Regions from separate parts of the Homo sapiens genome. Here regions 2, 3 and 4 are each linked to region 1. The links are contacts of gene promoters, found by promoter capture Hi-C in human tissues and cell types (Jung and others, 2019). All regions are on one chromosome and are shown on one strand. The core of a region is centred on a gene start or on the middle of the fragment in contact, and the rest is flanking DNA. Distances in the headings are between cores, read along the strand shown.

Evidence for each region. The method cuts DNA at HindIII sites, captures the fragments that hold promoters and counts their contacts. A contact is called where the count stands out against the background at its distance.
Region 2: a contact is called between a fragment that was not itself captured here and the fragment with the promoter of TSPAN11 in region 1, in 3 of the 25 tissues and cell types used here (H1 embryonic stem cells, mesenchymal stem cells and thymus).
Region 3: a fragment that was not itself captured here is called in contact with the fragment with the promoter of TSPAN11 in region 1 in 5 of the 25 tissues and cell types used here (H1 embryonic stem cells, IMR-90 fibroblasts, liver and 2 more).
Region 4: a contact is called between a fragment that was not itself captured here and the fragment with the promoter of TSPAN11 in region 1, in 3 of the 25 tissues and cell types used here (liver, mesenchymal stem cells and thymus).

The regions. Positions count from the first base shown.
Region 1 is chr12:30,924,473-30,928,379 of GRCh38, reverse strand. It overlaps TSPAN11 (tetraspanin 11), which reads right to left and starts at 1,632. Exons shown (of 8, transcript NM_001370302.1): 1 at 1,584-1,632. It overlaps LOC124902911 (a long non-coding RNA gene), which reads left to right and starts at 1,691. Exons shown (of 2, transcript XR_007063264.1): 1 at 1,691-3,907. The HindIII fragment of the contact is 5,500 bases long and covers 1-3,907 here.
Region 2 is chr12:30,840,542-30,844,346 of GRCh38, reverse strand. No RefSeq gene overlaps it. Among named protein-coding and RNA genes, the nearest start is that of LINC00941, 47 kb to the right of the region's middle. The HindIII fragment of the contact is 4,014 bases long and covers 1-3,373 here.
Region 3 is chr12:31,033,367-31,037,180 of GRCh38, reverse strand. The region is part of intron 2 of DDX11-AS1 (DDX11 antisense RNA 1); the gene reads left to right. Among named protein-coding and RNA genes, the nearest start is that of TSPAN11-AS1, 29 kb to the right of the region's middle. The HindIII fragment of the contact is 6,117 bases long and covers 1-3,814 here.
Region 4 is chr12:31,017,577-31,021,349 of GRCh38, reverse strand. It overlaps DDX11-AS1 (DDX11 antisense RNA 1), which reads left to right. Exons shown (of 3, transcript NR_038927.2): 3 at 1-587. Among named protein-coding and RNA genes, the nearest start is that of TSPAN11-AS1, 13 kb to the right of the region's middle. The HindIII fragment of the contact is 3,757 bases long and covers 466-3,773 here.

The DNA.
Region 1 (3,907 bases), core at 383-2,882:
CCTTGGCTGGGAAAGCTTCTTCATCTCCTATCTCCCTGGCTACAAACTGTGAAGGGTGCTCCTTACTGCTTCATTTGGCGGCATAAAAAGAAAAGCAAGTTGGTGGTTATAAATGTCCTGGGCTCATCTGAAGAAAGGCTCTCTGGAAAGTCAAGGTGCTCTAGGCAGACTTAAAGACATCAACGCCAGTTTTCCTCTTGTTCTGCAGCACTCACACAAGAACTATGGGGAATCACACAGGCCTGTACATATTTTACACACGAGTCCAAAGGTGGGTATAAAATTCCTGCTATGCTGAATATAGTGGGAAACAGCACACAAATGCCTCCCTCTGCTACCCACAAACCAAACAGCTCTGGGCCACCTAAGCCCTCGCCAGACCACCAACTTGGCCCCTGTAGGCCAGTAGTGCCCCTTACCCTAGGAGTCTTAACTATCATCAAAGCATTTCCAGGCATTAATTGGAGCCTCCAGTCCCTTGGGAGACAGATGGGGCCAGTGGTTATTAGTCCCATTTTGCACAAAAAGCAACTGAGCCCCAGATGACCTATCTGTCCAGGGAACAATGCTACTGACACAGTGACAACCATTAAGTTCTGATTCAAACCTGTCTCCAGCCTCTAACTGCTGCTTTCCACTGCAATCCAGCTGCCCACAAATTGAACACAGACTATCCACTTTGGCCTAATACCACCCTCATTCTCTTCTTCACGCTCCCCCACACACACCCTATGCCCCAGAGTGCACTTATGAGTTTTTCCAGAAGCTGCCTCTTCTCCTCACCCCCCACCCCCACGCTCACCTCACAATACTTGCCACGAACTGGAGACCTCTGGAACACTTATTCCTCCTGCACACAGCAGCTTAGACTCAAGTTAAGATGCTGTCCCGCCAAGCCCAACTGGGCTGCCTCCCTTTCATACTTTCCACCAATTCACACATGTGCACACTGCACATATGGCTGGTGAAAAGGATACACCCCAGAACCTTCCATGCCTTCTTTCCACACGGAGCCGGCCAACTGCACATGCAGGGATGGGCACGAAAACACAGGTGACAGGGCCTACACAGCCATGTTGTCACAAATACACAGACGTGCCCAGAACATGAGGACATCCCTGCACAGGCAGACAGGCCCTCTGAAAGCAATGTGCACCAGATACAGCATTTTGGTGTAGCCATGAGAGGCAGCTACTCGAATTCAGGGTGGACAAAGAATGACATTTTCAAGAGGAACAGACATGCCCCGGGCACGCTGGACGGCACGAGGCCCTCAGAGGCCCAGAGCTCTCTCCCAAGGCACAAGTGCAGAAAGGCAGACTCATGCGCATAGTTATGGACACCGTGTTGCGTGTCCCATGCAGACACCAATACCTGCTCACATGCCCCGCGAGTGTCCCAGGCATTCCTGCCTCCTCCACTCCTCATCCCCAGCCGGCTTCCCTCTGCCCGCCCGGGGGAAGCTCGGGACAGTCTAGCTCGGGACTGCCGGCGGGGCGGGCAGCGGAGGTGGAGGCGCCTCTCCTGGACCCCCAGCCCCCTCCCGCGGCGCCCCCACTCCTCGGGCGCGCTTCTGCACTTACCCTGCCAGGGGCTCCGGAAGCGGCGAAGGGAGCTGCGCCTAGAGAGACTGAGAGCGGCGGCTCCCGGGGCCGCCCAGCCGCCCACCGCCCGCAGCCAGCGCTCCTCCCTCCCAGCCCGGGAAGGTCAGCGTGTGGGCAGCCCGGCCCGCGCCCCTGCGCCCACTGAGGCTTCCTGCCGGCCCTCTAGTCCCCGCCTGCCCAGCGCTCGGCCGCGACGCCCCGGCGCCGGCTCTCCCAGCCCAGCCGGCAGGACGCGCCCGGGAGCCCCGCACGCGAGCTGCCGGCTCTTTGTTTGGGGGTTTGCCTCTCTGCGATTCAGAGCACGCGGAGGGAATTAAGTCAGAGTCCGAGGCAGCTGTGCGGTTGCCGGGGGGATCCCTAAGGGGGGCGGGGCAAAAGGACGGACTAGTAGGGCGGTGGAGCGGCTTTCAAACTCCCCGCGCTCCGCAGCTCCCCGCTTAGGTCTCCCTGCCCTTTACGTTTGTCGGCCCCTGGGAGAGGTTGGCCTTTGGGGGTTTCCAGGGACCCTAGGGACAAGCCTGTCTGATAAGAGAGAGGTTCTCCATCCCCCTTCCTCACCAGCCCCCATCACTGCCGTGTCCCTCTTAGAGTCCTGTGGAGCATCAGCTTTACATTTCCTGGGCCCCGGGGAGAATCAAGGTCTCTCTAATCTGAAGCAAAAAGGAATAACAGAGAGTAGAGCCCATCTGTTCCTGCTGAGTCCCTGTGAAGGTGCAAAGCTGGCCCTAACGGGACTGGCCCTAACAGTGGGGCATGGATTATCTATTTCCCAAAGTAACAAGGGCCTTGTGCTTATCCAACCGTGTTCTTTTGAAACTTAGCTGCAGTGAGGAAGATTACCCATTTACCAGGTTGCTAGATCAGGGAAGCCACTGGAGGCAGGGGACGCTGACAAAGCCACTGTACCGGGAGCACCAACGTTCTAAATACCCCAGCTGGCTGCTGAGAAGGGCTTCGCGGGGGGCCACACAGGAAGGAGATGATTCCAATAGTCCCGTGAGATGAGGACCTTAACTGGGGGATGAATGCGGAAGCTGCAGCAAAGGAGAGTCTACAGACTGTGTGGTGTAGGAGGAGCACACTGGGGCTGTAACATTGTGGAAGTCTGGAGGAGAACCTGGAGTGATGTGACTGAGTTTAGTGTGGAGCAAGTTGGATTGGAGAAGCAGGCCACCTTCTTCCAGGGGCAGATATCCAGCAAATGCAATTGGAAGGGTGATTCTGGAGTTCATAGGAGAGACTGAGGCAAGGGATGTCAATTTTGGAATCATCTGGAAAGAAGTTGGGCCGACACAAGAGGTGGAGGGAGAGGGTAGAAAAGGTACAGAGAACAGGGCTGAAGACAGAATCTAGGTCTACCGAGAAGGAGCCCATGAAAGGAACGGAAACTATCAGGAGAAACCATAAGGGAAGGTCAGGACTGTGCGGGGTGTCAGGACTCAGGAGAAGAGGGAGGTTCAATGGGGGCCGGGGCCCGGGCTGCAGGGACACCACGGAGGAGGGCGCCCAAGAAAATAGGTTTAGATTTAGAAAGAAGGAGATCTCTGGGCTAGTTCAAGATAACTATTTGAGTGGTGGCTTATATAAACCAGGTTGCCACTCCTTGGGGCGGGGCATCTGTATCTCGGATCCAATTGGTTGATGGGGAGATACAAAGGTTCACCTCTTTGCTTCCATTACGGAGGGCCCTGAAGGGCCACCCCAGCTCCATAGCTTCCCAAGGGATCCGCCGAGGCCTCTGTGGAAAGCAGCACAGTTAAAGTTCATTCTCTGCCGAATCCTGTTTCCCTCACTCTCTCAAGGTGTTGTTCCCAAGAGCACGTCCCAGGAGACCTCCCACATACCATCTCCATCTCTGTGCAGAGTCTGTTTCCTAGAAATCCAACCGGAGGTACAGGGACACTGAGAAAGGGCGCAGGAAACAAAACTTGGCCTCTAACGGAGCAGTTTAAACAGACAGGGATGGTTAGAAAGACTCAGAGAAGGTGGTGTGAAGGAAAGAGCCTGGGGAATGGGGAGCGAAGAGGAAGCTTATTCGTAGTAGAAGATGGATTTTCAAAAGCCGGATGGAAGAGAGAAGAGTGGAGTAGGCCCGAGGAGGGGAGAATGCTGGAAGAGGGTAAGGGTGAGGGGAGGTCAGTATTCACCAAAGTTAATAACATTAAAACAGCAATGAGGAAAGAGAGGGTTGGAAAACGGCCTGGAGTGACTTTCTAGCAGTAGGAGAGGGTGAGTGATGAATGAAGCTCTGGGCTAGGGTAGTCCCTCTCCAGCAGTATCCCCAGTAACATTAAACGTTTACA
Region 2 (3,805 bases), core at 117-2,616, 84 kb after region 1:
TCCGTTGAATGAATTCCCGGCCAATGCACCAAAATGATATGGCTCCGATGACTGGAGGAACACCAGAGTCCTTGGTCTCATGATGACCGACATGGACACAAGTCTGGAGTGGTTTTAAGGAGCAGAGAATTTAATAGGCAAGAAAGAGGAAAGGAAGAAGAAAACAGCTCCCCCATACAGAGACAGAGGGAGGGGGATCCAAGCAAAGAGAAACCCTGTGTGTGGCAGAAAAGTGGTTGGTTATACGGGAGGCTGGAGGAGGCGGTGTCTGATTTGTATAGGGCCCAAGGGATTGGTTTGAACAGGTGTGTCATTCACGTAGCTGGCAAAAAACCTGGCCATCCCAACTTAGCCCTTTAGTATGCACATGCGGGCCTGCCATGATGTCCCAAACATGTGGAGTTATCTGGAGGTGCCCATGACACTTGGCATACCTGGTGACAAGAAGAAGAAGGTGGGAATTGCCATATTGGGTGGACCCAGTTTCTAATGACGTGCATTTGCATATCAAAGCTTGCCCGCCTGGCCCTCTTTAAGTACCTTTCTGTTAGAAAAGAAATAGTTTGGAGGTTGCTTTCATTAAAAGAAAAACCCTGACTGAGAACTCCTTTTACCTTCTCTATCTGCCTGAAAATTATTTCTTAATAACTCCTGTATTAGCCCCACCATCCACCCAGAGTCACTCAGGCCAAAACCCTAGAGGTCCACCCTCGATTCCCTTCTCCCGTTTAACTCACATCCAATCCACCATAAAGTCTTGTCGAGATGACCTCTAAAGCATTTCCCAAATGGATGCAGCTTCCTCCCTCTCCACTATGTCCAGCCTGGTGAAAGCTACCATCACATCCTGCCTGGAGTACTACAGCAGCCTCTTGCTTGGCCTTCATATTTGTATTCTCTTCCCCTTTCGGGTGTTCTCCATAGACCATCTGGAGGTTGTCTTTTTAATCTAAGTTGATCACATCACCCTCCTGGTTAAAAGCTTCCAGGGGCTGTCCATCTGATTTGCAAAGAAATCCAGACCCCTCTCCCTAGAAGCTGCATAGGGCCTGGGTCCTGCGGACCTTGCCAGTGCCTGCCCTTGCCTCCCTCACCCCTCCTGGCAGTAGGCTTCAGCCATGGTTGTCTTTGTGTCTGTCCCCTAAGTTTGTTCCTGCCTTAGAGACTTGTATAAGCTTCCTCTTCTGCAATGCATGCCCCTGAAAGACAGTTAATTTCTTTTAATTGCCTGAGTTTAGCCTAAACATCATCTCTTTAGGCCCAAACTAGAGGTCCTCCCATCATTCACCTATCACAACTCCTGATTATATTTTCAATACATTATGTACAAGGTGATCTAAAAGTTTTCATGCATTTCTGTACTTGTATAGGAATGGCCAGTGATGACAGGTTCATCTTGACCAGTGATGAGAGTTTCCAGTTCTTCTTAGTCAGGAACCCAGATAAGGATTTGGGTTAATTTCCTTTCTTATCAGATGTGCCATGGAGCTTTTTCCCAGTCATTTTGGATCAAGCGAAGTCCTATTCCCAGATGCTTAGTAAACATTACTGTCCTGCATGCAATACCATCCTGGCCCTCCTGCCTCTAAACCAGGCATTATCTCCATCTGACTCTGCCATCTTGCTTTTTGTACTGTTTTGGCCTGTAGACCTCTAAGGGGATGGGCACCAAGGCAAAGGTCACTTGGCTTAGGTAATATCCTTGGGACCACTCTCCTTAGTAGCCCTGGAACTAGCCTTGCTAGGGTAAAATCCTAGGAGGGGCAAGTAGTTGTCCTCCAAAGCCACCCACTTTTAGTCTTTTTGCAAAACCTTCTTTTCTAGTCATATTCTCGATTTCTTCTAGACATGTTTTGTGATCAGTAAGTGTTGAGTGAAGGTATTGGTCAAAGGGGAAAATTTAGAGGTCAAGTCTATATCAGAGGGAAAGGGAAAGGCACCAAGAATATGCCAGTTAACACAATTTCTATTTAAGGGGCTAGAATGATACATTTAGGAGAAACAGCACAGGCTTCTAAACATGGTAGGACAAGAGAGTCAAACAAGAAGAAAACCCAGGCTGTTCAGTGGTGGGTTTGTCTTTGTCCAATATTAAGATTGAGAGCTTCTGACCAAGCTGAGGAAAAGCTAGATTGAGCTGCCTGGCATGTTCTCCCCTGGATAGCCTGGCAGCAGACACCCCCTGTGCTATGGCATTGCAAGGAAAAGACAGTGGGTAATTAAAGCCCGTGGTCATCTGGAGCTCAGCCACCTTGTGGTTCCCTTGGTTCCCTTTGGGGAAGGTTGGGGAACATGGGGAAGGGAGGGCTTTGTACCACAGAAAGGAATGGCTGGTAGGAATGGGAGATTTTGAGTGAAGCATAAAAAGTTATTTGGAGCCATGGGTTGGAGAGAGCCTCTAAGCATGGGGACCTCCTGCTCCTGCTTTTAATCAGACCAAGAGGGTAAGTAATAGATCCGGAGTTATATCCACATTGTCTCATGTGGCCTCCTCATTGTCATTGCTGCTTAAACAAAATGGGCATAGGGAGAGGGAAATGTTCATCCTCCTTGTGCCTCGGGAGGGTGCCGGGGTAGAGTGATCTTGGCAGCCTGTGGCTTCGTCACTGCCTCCCATGGGAGGACTGGGCCTGCCCAGAGCACAGAATAGTAATGGGTTGATACTATGCCTTTTTTATTTTTCGTCTCCAAACACAGGTGAATCACTTTGATTTAAGTTTCTTATAAAATGCTGTATCAGCTACTACTAGTTAAATGAGTTACTATTTGTCAAGAGCTTAGAACAGCACCTGGCACTGTCACATATTAATTTAGTAGCAATTGTCACCATGATTGCAGCTGTGGTGTTTCAGGTACTAACTTCTGGCAGCCTGTATAGATAATCAGCTCTCAGTGTTACTCCGGGGAATCAGGGCAATGCTTATCAGCTCAATTTGCCTGATGGGCTTAAAAGACATGAAAGGGAAAAGGTTGAGGGAACCGCTCCACATGCAGTTATTTGTTCTGACCAAATATCCGACATTGGTGCCTTCTGAAAATGAAATATGCTCCAATGGCCTCATGTACACATGCATGTGTTGCATAATGTGTGTGAAGTGTACCTCTGTTACTGAAACAGGATCCTATTTATTGACAATGGTGAAAGAAACATGAAGACGGTATTTATTGGGTCGGCTATGAGGTCATCAGACCACTTAGAGCCATCTCTGAGCCACCTAATACCTGGCCCCATTGATGGGGGGGGGGTCCCATATGATTCCACTTGGATTCAGAGACTAGGTTGATAAGCCTTCACAGTCAGGCCTCCTACTGAAATAGAATACTTGTTTTCTAGTCACAACCCTGCTAACCGAAACAGGATGCAGTCCAAACAGGTTAAAGTTAAAAAAAACAACAAAACCAGCAGATGGTGACAAAATGATTGCTAGCTGACCTCATTGCTCACTTGCATTAGACACTCCCACCAAGCGCCATGACAGTTTACAAATGCCATGACAACAACTCGGAAATTCCCACTCCTTTCCATGGCAACAACCTGGAAGTTACTGCCCTTTTCCTAGAAAGGTCTCAATAACCTGCCCCTCAATTTGCATTGACCCATCCTTTAACTTGCATATTATTAAAAGTGGGCTTTTGAGAGTATAAATATAGTTGACGAGAGTCCGTACACTGCCAACTCTAGGTGCACTGCTTATGAGTTAGCCCTACTCTGCAAGGAGCAGTACCAGTCAATAAAAGATTGCTAACACAATCGGCTCACCCTTAAATTCTTTCCTAGGCAAAGCAAAAATCTCTCCAGGGCTAA
Region 3 (3,814 bases), core at 564-3,063, 110 kb before region 1:
CTGTAGGCTCTACATTCACCTCTTTGACATTGTCCTCTGGGTGGCTCTGAACATATCTGCCCTCTCTTTATGACGGAAGGGCTTCCACTCAGCCCCTTGGCTGGAGAGTCACAGGAGTGAGGTTGAGGCCTCCCTTCTCTCCATCCCATAGGCCTGGGGAAAGGCTCTGGCGGTGTGGGCTGACATGATTGGCTGGTCCTCACTCATCCAGCCATTGCTGCGTGCCACGCTCAGCGACCACATGCATGTAGGTCCTGGAGGAAATCTGCAAGTACCTGGTGAGTGAGGGTCTCAGGAGAGGCTGCACACAGTCCTCATGCTGAGCCCTCAGTAGCGGGTTCCGTGGGCACAGAGGGGTGGGCTGCCAGAGAGAGGTTCCTGTGCTCCTTGTTTCTCACTCCTTCACATGAGCCCACTCTGAGAACCCACAGCTGGGGTGCCAGTCCCTGGTTCTCTGTATTTGACTCTCTGGGCATCCAGATCACTGCCTCAAAGGCTGGGGAGGTCATGCCAGGTCCCTGGATGGCAACTGGCCAGAGGTCTTCTGGTTGGAGTGGCAGGGAGAGAAGAGGGCAGGAGCATCAGGCCTCTGGTCAGTTGGCATGGGGTGAAGGGTCTGTGGCTCCTGCAAATTCAAGAACAAGCCAGGGCTCAGGAATCCCTGTTGAAAAGCAAACATTTAAGGGCTAAGAAAGTAGGTTAAGAGCTCAGATGAGTCATTCTAAGGATTTATAGCATAAATCCTTCACATAGGGGGAGCATTTTACAAAGCACTTTTCCATTTATTACCCACGGGCACTTGTCATGGTGTGTGGGAGGTTGGGCGGGATTGCCTTCCACTCTACTCTCAAGAAAGTGAAGCCAGTGGGTGCCAGGTCCAACTTTCAAACCCAAGGCTCCCAGCCCCATGGAGTTGTTTTCTCTCACATCCTGTGGGTTCCCAGAAGCAGTAAACTTCCTGCTGCAGAGGGGTGGGGGTCTGAGTCTGCAGGGTCCAGCAGTCAGAGCTGCCTGAAGATGCACTGCTGCTGCTGGGGACAGTGGGGAGGCCGTGGCTGCCAGGAGGCCTTCTGCAGGACTCCCAGTGGCTCCTCTCCTGGTCAGCACCGCCCATGGCTGTAGAAGGAGAGGTTGCCAGGAAGAGGGTCTCTGCAGAGGGAGTCTAGAAAGTGCAAACATTCCTCCCACATAAGAAACTTTTCATCTTCCTTGAAGCAGAGGGCAAGGTCGCTGGGAGCTGGGGCTGGCGAGGGGCGAGTCAGTAGGAAAGAAAGCTTCAGGAGACCGGCGAGGGTCTGTCATAGCCATTGGGGGAGTAGGACATAAAGCTGGCCAGAGACCACAGGACTTACGGGCAGCACCAAGGACGAAGCAGAGGCCAGGAGCTCATACCCGTCTAGATCCATGAGGCCATGTGGTCTCAGCAGCGCTCAGCCGCCCCACACAGGACAGAGAAGGTGGCAGCTGGACTGAGTCAAGGGGAGTCCTCCTGTGATTGTCCCCAGGGGCAGACGGTGAGGTCAAGGGGATGAGGGATTGCTGAAGTAACTGATGGGATGGGCCATGGAGAAGCAAGTGAAGAGGCTGAGGGGACTCAGGGAGGGTCCTAGGAGGAAATAGAAAGCCTAAGTCCTTGATGTGGCACAGGGCCACTGGGTAACAAGGCGGAGAACAGCAAGCACAAGAAATTGTCAAGGAGGAGACACCAGCCTGCGGCTTCAAGAGGTGGTGTATTACTCATTGCTAAGGAGGAAGAGGGTAATTGGACTGGGATGCTGGAGATGGAGCCCTGGGCTCTAGCCAGCATAGGGCTGCCAGACGTAGCCACCAGCTCTGAATTCTCAACTCCGATTCTGGGATAATATCCTGACTTTGCTGAGCACAGATCTTTTTTTTTATTATCATTTTTCAATAGAGACAAGATCTCCCTCTGTCACCCAGGCTGGAATACAGTAGAGGGATCATAGTTCACTGTAACCTCAAACTCCCAGGCTCCAGCAATCCTCCTGCCTCAGTCTCCTGAGTAGCTAGGGCTGCACATGCATGCCACCATGCCCAGCTAACTTTTTAAGTTTTTAGTAGAAATGGAGTCTCTCTATGTTGCCCAGGCTGGTCTCAAACTCCTGGCCTCCAGCGATCTGCCTGCCTCAGCTTCCCAAAGTTCTGAGATTGCAGGCTTGAGTCACTGTGCCAGAACTATGCATACCTTTGACTTAATAGCAACCTTGACCTGGAGCTCATCCTTTAAAAATCAAATTTTAAAAAAATATGATTTCAAAACCACACATAGTAAAGAATTTGGAGAATACAGAACACCAACACAGAAAAGATTAATACAGAAAATCAATACAGAAGAGAAGTTAGAAATCTCCTGCAAACCTACCACTGGGATTTAGACATGATTAATTTGGGGTTAGCTCTTTCCAGTTTGCCTTTTTTTTTCTTTTTCTTTTCTTTATTTTTTTAATTTTTTTTTATTTTTTGCCTATTCAGGAGCATTTTAGTAATGTATCCTCCAACTTACTGGGGCTTGGAGCTCTGTGACTCAGTTTTCCTGGTTAGAAGATATGATGGCCACATGCCAACAAATTTCTGGAACAGCTTTCATGTGGTTTCCTCATACCTGCAGCCAGGAGGGCTGCATATCTCTCCATCCTAGGCAGTGAGGATCAGAGAGCCGGGTGATGGGTGCAGAGCCATGCAGCAGGCCCATGGGCTCCAGGGTTCCTCACCTTAACCCAAGTGGGTGCCAGAGAAAAATCTCACCTCGAGAGGAGGCACAGACACCAGGCTGCCAGGGCCGTGCACCACAGGTCAGATCCATCCAGAATCTCCCACGAGCTGTTCTCATGCCTCTGTGACACAAAGTCAGAAAAGCAGTCAGTCCCAGAAGAGAGTTTACAACTTGCTTTTTGAGCCAATCAGACCTTTGAACAAAATGTCCTCTTTTCCACAGTGTATCTGTCCTATTCACCTTCAGTTTGGAGAGCTGTTCTGACCTTTCTTAACGAAATGAGTGTCTCCCCTTCTTCGGCGAATAATAAATTCAGTGTCTGCTTTAGACAGCTTTGGTGACCTTTGTGTTCTTCTGTGGCATGAACCTCGCTTTAGTCATCGCTGTGGCCAGTGGATAGCCACTCTCTTCTGAGGGCTGTCACAGAATTCCTCCTTCTGAGAGGTTTATTGGTGATGGGGTAGGGGGTGGTCAGGGGTCCCAAGCCTCCCGGGCGAAGGCCAAGCCCTGCTTTCTTTACCAAGTTGCTCAGAGGTCTCCACTTGCAAATCATTAGCCTCATTGGGTTGGCACTCGTCCACTTGCATTTCTAGCTGGGACATTCTCTTCTATGAAAATAGTTTGTGGATATGACGAGTGGGCAGAGGAGTTTGTTTCTGTTAAGGAGTTGCTGATGGTAGGGCAATGATTCCAACTTCCATTGTTCAGCCAGATTCCTTCATTCCCCAAACTGCTCTGGATTTAGCCTAATCTTGGAAGTCAGAGTCCTGTTTGACTAACGAGAAAAATCAGAACTTCTGGGTAAAGTTACCAGACATTCACTATTGGGAGGAAATAGCTCCAGACTTGGGCTTGCCACTGTCCTTCCTTGCCCCCTCTTGGATGGAATAGTTGGGAACTCTTCCCCTCCCTACCTCCCCAGTCTTCCCCAGGGTGAGAAGAGCTTTTTTATTCCTATTAGCCATGATTTCAAGCCAACATTGAAAACGTTTTGATTTCCTGGATCGTGGGGGAAGCTTCTGTCTGGGCATCCCAGCCTCACATACTGAGTGCCTCTTCGAGCCCTGTGTGGTGAATCAA
Region 4 (3,773 bases), core at 1,095-3,594, 92 kb before region 1:
CTGGAGAAGCTCATCAAGTCTAGCTCACTTTGGAGTAAGTTGGTGCTGGAGAATGAATTCATGCTAACCAAATTCACCAAGAGCCTGATTTACAAATGAGAGAGCCAAGGCCTTAAGTTTAGAGCAAAAGACAAACTTCCAATGACTTTAGTTTTCTTGTCCAATATCTAGGGCACCTTCCCCTCTCCACCTGCTGTGTACACAGGAGAAATAATCACTCCACACCCGACTGAACATTTTCTAACCTTATCACTGTGGCAGAAACTGGCTACTCTTCCTCCTGGGTAGACAGCCAGGCTGTATTTCCCCGCTGCCCCTGCAGTGAGAGGTAGCCATTGGAGCCGGCGCAGGCCAATGGACTCTGCACTGGAGTGACACATGCTGCTTCCAGGCCTGTCCCTCAAACCTCCCACATGTCCTCTGTCTGCTCTTCTCACTTCCAAGGAGTGTGACCATCGTGGAAGCCCCAGGTTAGCAATGGCAGATTGGGAGGCATCGATGGGAGGAACCTGGGTCCCTGACTTAAAGCATCATGGATTTGGACTTTCCGTTATTGAGAAATAAACTTCCATTGTGTTTAAGCCTTTATTTGATTGTTTATAGTTTGTTATAGGAACTGCCATCTTTTCATTAAAACACTGATGCTGCCTCCTGTCCCTGGAATGCTTGTAACCCTGCCCTGCTTCCCCAGGGTAACCCCCACTTGGCCTTTAAGTTCATCTCTGCCGTCACACCCTCCAGGAAGCCTTCTCTGAGCACCCCAATCCCTCCACCAACGGTTTGGTGTCTCCAGCAGAAGCTGCACAGCTGCCCTCTGCCTGCCCTCTCCTTCCTCCTGTTAGAATCCCAAGACTCCCATGCAGCTAGAAGCACTCGTGTGATCCAGTGCCGGTCAATAAGATGTAAGAGGAAGCAGCTGGGCAGAGATTCTTAGGAATCTCCTTTTAAAAAGGAAGAGATTGGCCTCATTTCTGCCTTTTACCCTTTTTCTATGTGCTTGCCTACTTCCTGCCTGGGACTCCTATGCAGCACCTGCGAATGGGGACACATATTACAACTCTTAGGCTGAAACCCACGTGCTCAGGCAGAGTAGAAGGAAGTCCTGGGTTCCTGAAGGCATCATGGAGCCACCATGTCCGCCCTGGGCTACCGACCTCCTTTCTCCTGTTGTGTGGAGAATATGAACCCCGGTGCTTGAGCCCTGTGGTCGGGTTTCTTTTGGGCACAGCTGAAAGTAATCTTAACTAGACGAGCTCCTCTGTGAGTGCTCCCAGGCACCTGGCTGCCCTCCGCGGTGCCTATCGAAACACGCATCGCACTCGCATCATCTGGTTATGTGTCTGTTTCCCTGGCTTGTTGAAGGCACGGGGCAAGCACTCAATAACTGTGGTGACAGGGACGTTGCTGTGTCTCCTCATCCTGGACCTGAGGAAAGGAAAGGTTTCCCTGGAGCACACAGAAAATCCCAGTGGCATCCCCGCCCCATCTCCTCTATCAGTGGAGCATCAGCTCTGCGATCACTGAAGTCTTTCAGGCTCTCACTTCCTCTGATTCCACCTCATAGCCAGTAAATGTCCACACCAAGGAGGATATGAAAGTACGAAACATAGCCCTGGTCCTTCCATCGAGGAAGTCAAGGAATGCATGCAGGACGACAACTAGCACTTGCACTGCACTTCTTATGCCCCAGGTGAAATGCACATAAAATTGACCATTTTAAAGTGAACAATCAGTGGCATTTAGTACATTCACAATGTTGTCCCACCACTCCCTCTCTGTAGTTCCAAAACATTTTCATCATCCCAAAATGAAAACTTGTACCCATGAAGTAGCCACTTCCCATTCTCCCCTCCACTCGGCCCCTGGAAAACACCAATCTGCTTTCTGTTTCCATAGATTTACCTAGTCTGGATATTTCATATAAATTGAATTACATAATATGTGACCTGTGTCTGGCTTCTTTCACTTCACATAATGCTTTTGAGGTTTAACCACATGGTGCCATGCATCAGTTCTGCATTCCTTTTCCTGGCTTAGTAATATTCCATTGTTTGTACATACCACAGTTTGTTTATCCATTCATCCATCTATGGACACAGGCATCATTTTAAGCACTTGAAATATATTAACTCACTGAATCCTCACCACAGAGACAGATGCAGTTATTGTCCCTAAATTATTATAGAGTAGAAACTGAGGCACAAATAACGTGCCTAGGATCACACAGCTATTAAGCAGAATAAGGACTCCAGTCCAGGCAGTCTAGTACCAAAGGCCTTCCTTGTAATCGCTGTGCTTTACCACCTCTCAGAGAACAACCACAGGGACTAAGCAGTCTAGTGAAGCTTCAAATGCTGTACGTTTCAGAGAATGGGGAGGTCCCTGGCTGTCACAGAAGCTTCCTGGAGAAGTAGGATCATGTAAGTTCTAACTCAGGGCAGGTCAGGGTGATGTGAGTGACCAACTCACTCGGAACACAGACATTCATGGGTGTTCAGTAAAACCGGTTCTAGAACCAGTGATGACTTCAGCCCAAGGATCCCACAAGGGAAAGTGCTTGTCTTTGCCTGCACAGCACAGAGCATTCTGGGCAGAGTTCTGGACCCAAGCTTCTTTCAAATACCTTATAAACAGCAACAGAAGCTGGCTGTATCTTCTGTCTGGCTGCATCTGTCTAACAGTTTAGAGAGTGAGACATTTCCTTCCTCTTTAATCCAACTATCCTTGGAAGACTTCCCAAAAAGCAATGCACCTTGGAGAAGTTTAATGCCGTTGAGGAAAGTGGTTTCCAGGAGAGAGGGGAGTCTGTTCCATGAACTGTGATACAAGGGAACATCTTAAACTCTTAAACTAAGTCCTCAGTCTCCTAGGAAATCATTACGATTTTCTTCCTATAGATCAGGGCTCAGGACACCCTACTGCATGCTCTTCACCCCTCCACCAGAGTTCCTAAAGTCCATGCTCACGGATCCTGGGAATCAAGGAGGTTGGAGGATGCAGGCAAGCCTCATCAAGACTGCCTGGGACCAACCCTGCAGTCCTCCTTCCCTAGGCCCACTCAGCCCAGCTGGCCAGCAAAGGCAGGCAGGGCCTCCTTGTCCACACATGAGAATGACCTGCAGCTTTTCTTTGTCTAGGCTGAGGTCAAGGATTCCCATTGCAGCTCTAGGGTGAGGGTAAAAGTTTTTGCAATTCAGTTCCTAGGAAATCTTTAAAATTAGGTCTGAGATGAGTCTGTCAGTAGTAGATTAGGTAGAGAACTTTTATACAGTTGAGGGTGAACCGTCTGGAGGGTGAACTGTCTGGTCCGGTTCTAGAACTGGGAGTAGTACCTTGGTGCCTAGCAACACATCTTTGAGAACACGCAACCAGGCTTGGTATGTGATAGAGTGTGTGTGTGTGTGTGTGTGTGTGTGTGTGAGAAAGAGAGTGTGTGAATGTGTGTGTGTATGAGTGTGTGCAAGTTGTGAGTGTGTGTGAGTATAGTGTGTGAGCATGTGTGGGTGTGTGTGAGTGTGTGTGTGGGAGCATGTGTGCGTGTCAGTGTGTGTGTGAGTGTGAGTGTGTGAGAGTGTGTGTGTGAGTGTGTGTCTTTGGATACACAGACATCCTGGAGCATATGCATATTTCCTTTCTCATTCAAATAAACCCTACAGATAACAAAGTGCTTTAACATCCGGTCTCTGCAGCCTTCCACAGGAGGCAAGGCAAGCACTATTAAGCCCGCTATAAACAGGTCAGCTGAAGCACCCCCTCAGTGACTTGCCCAGGGT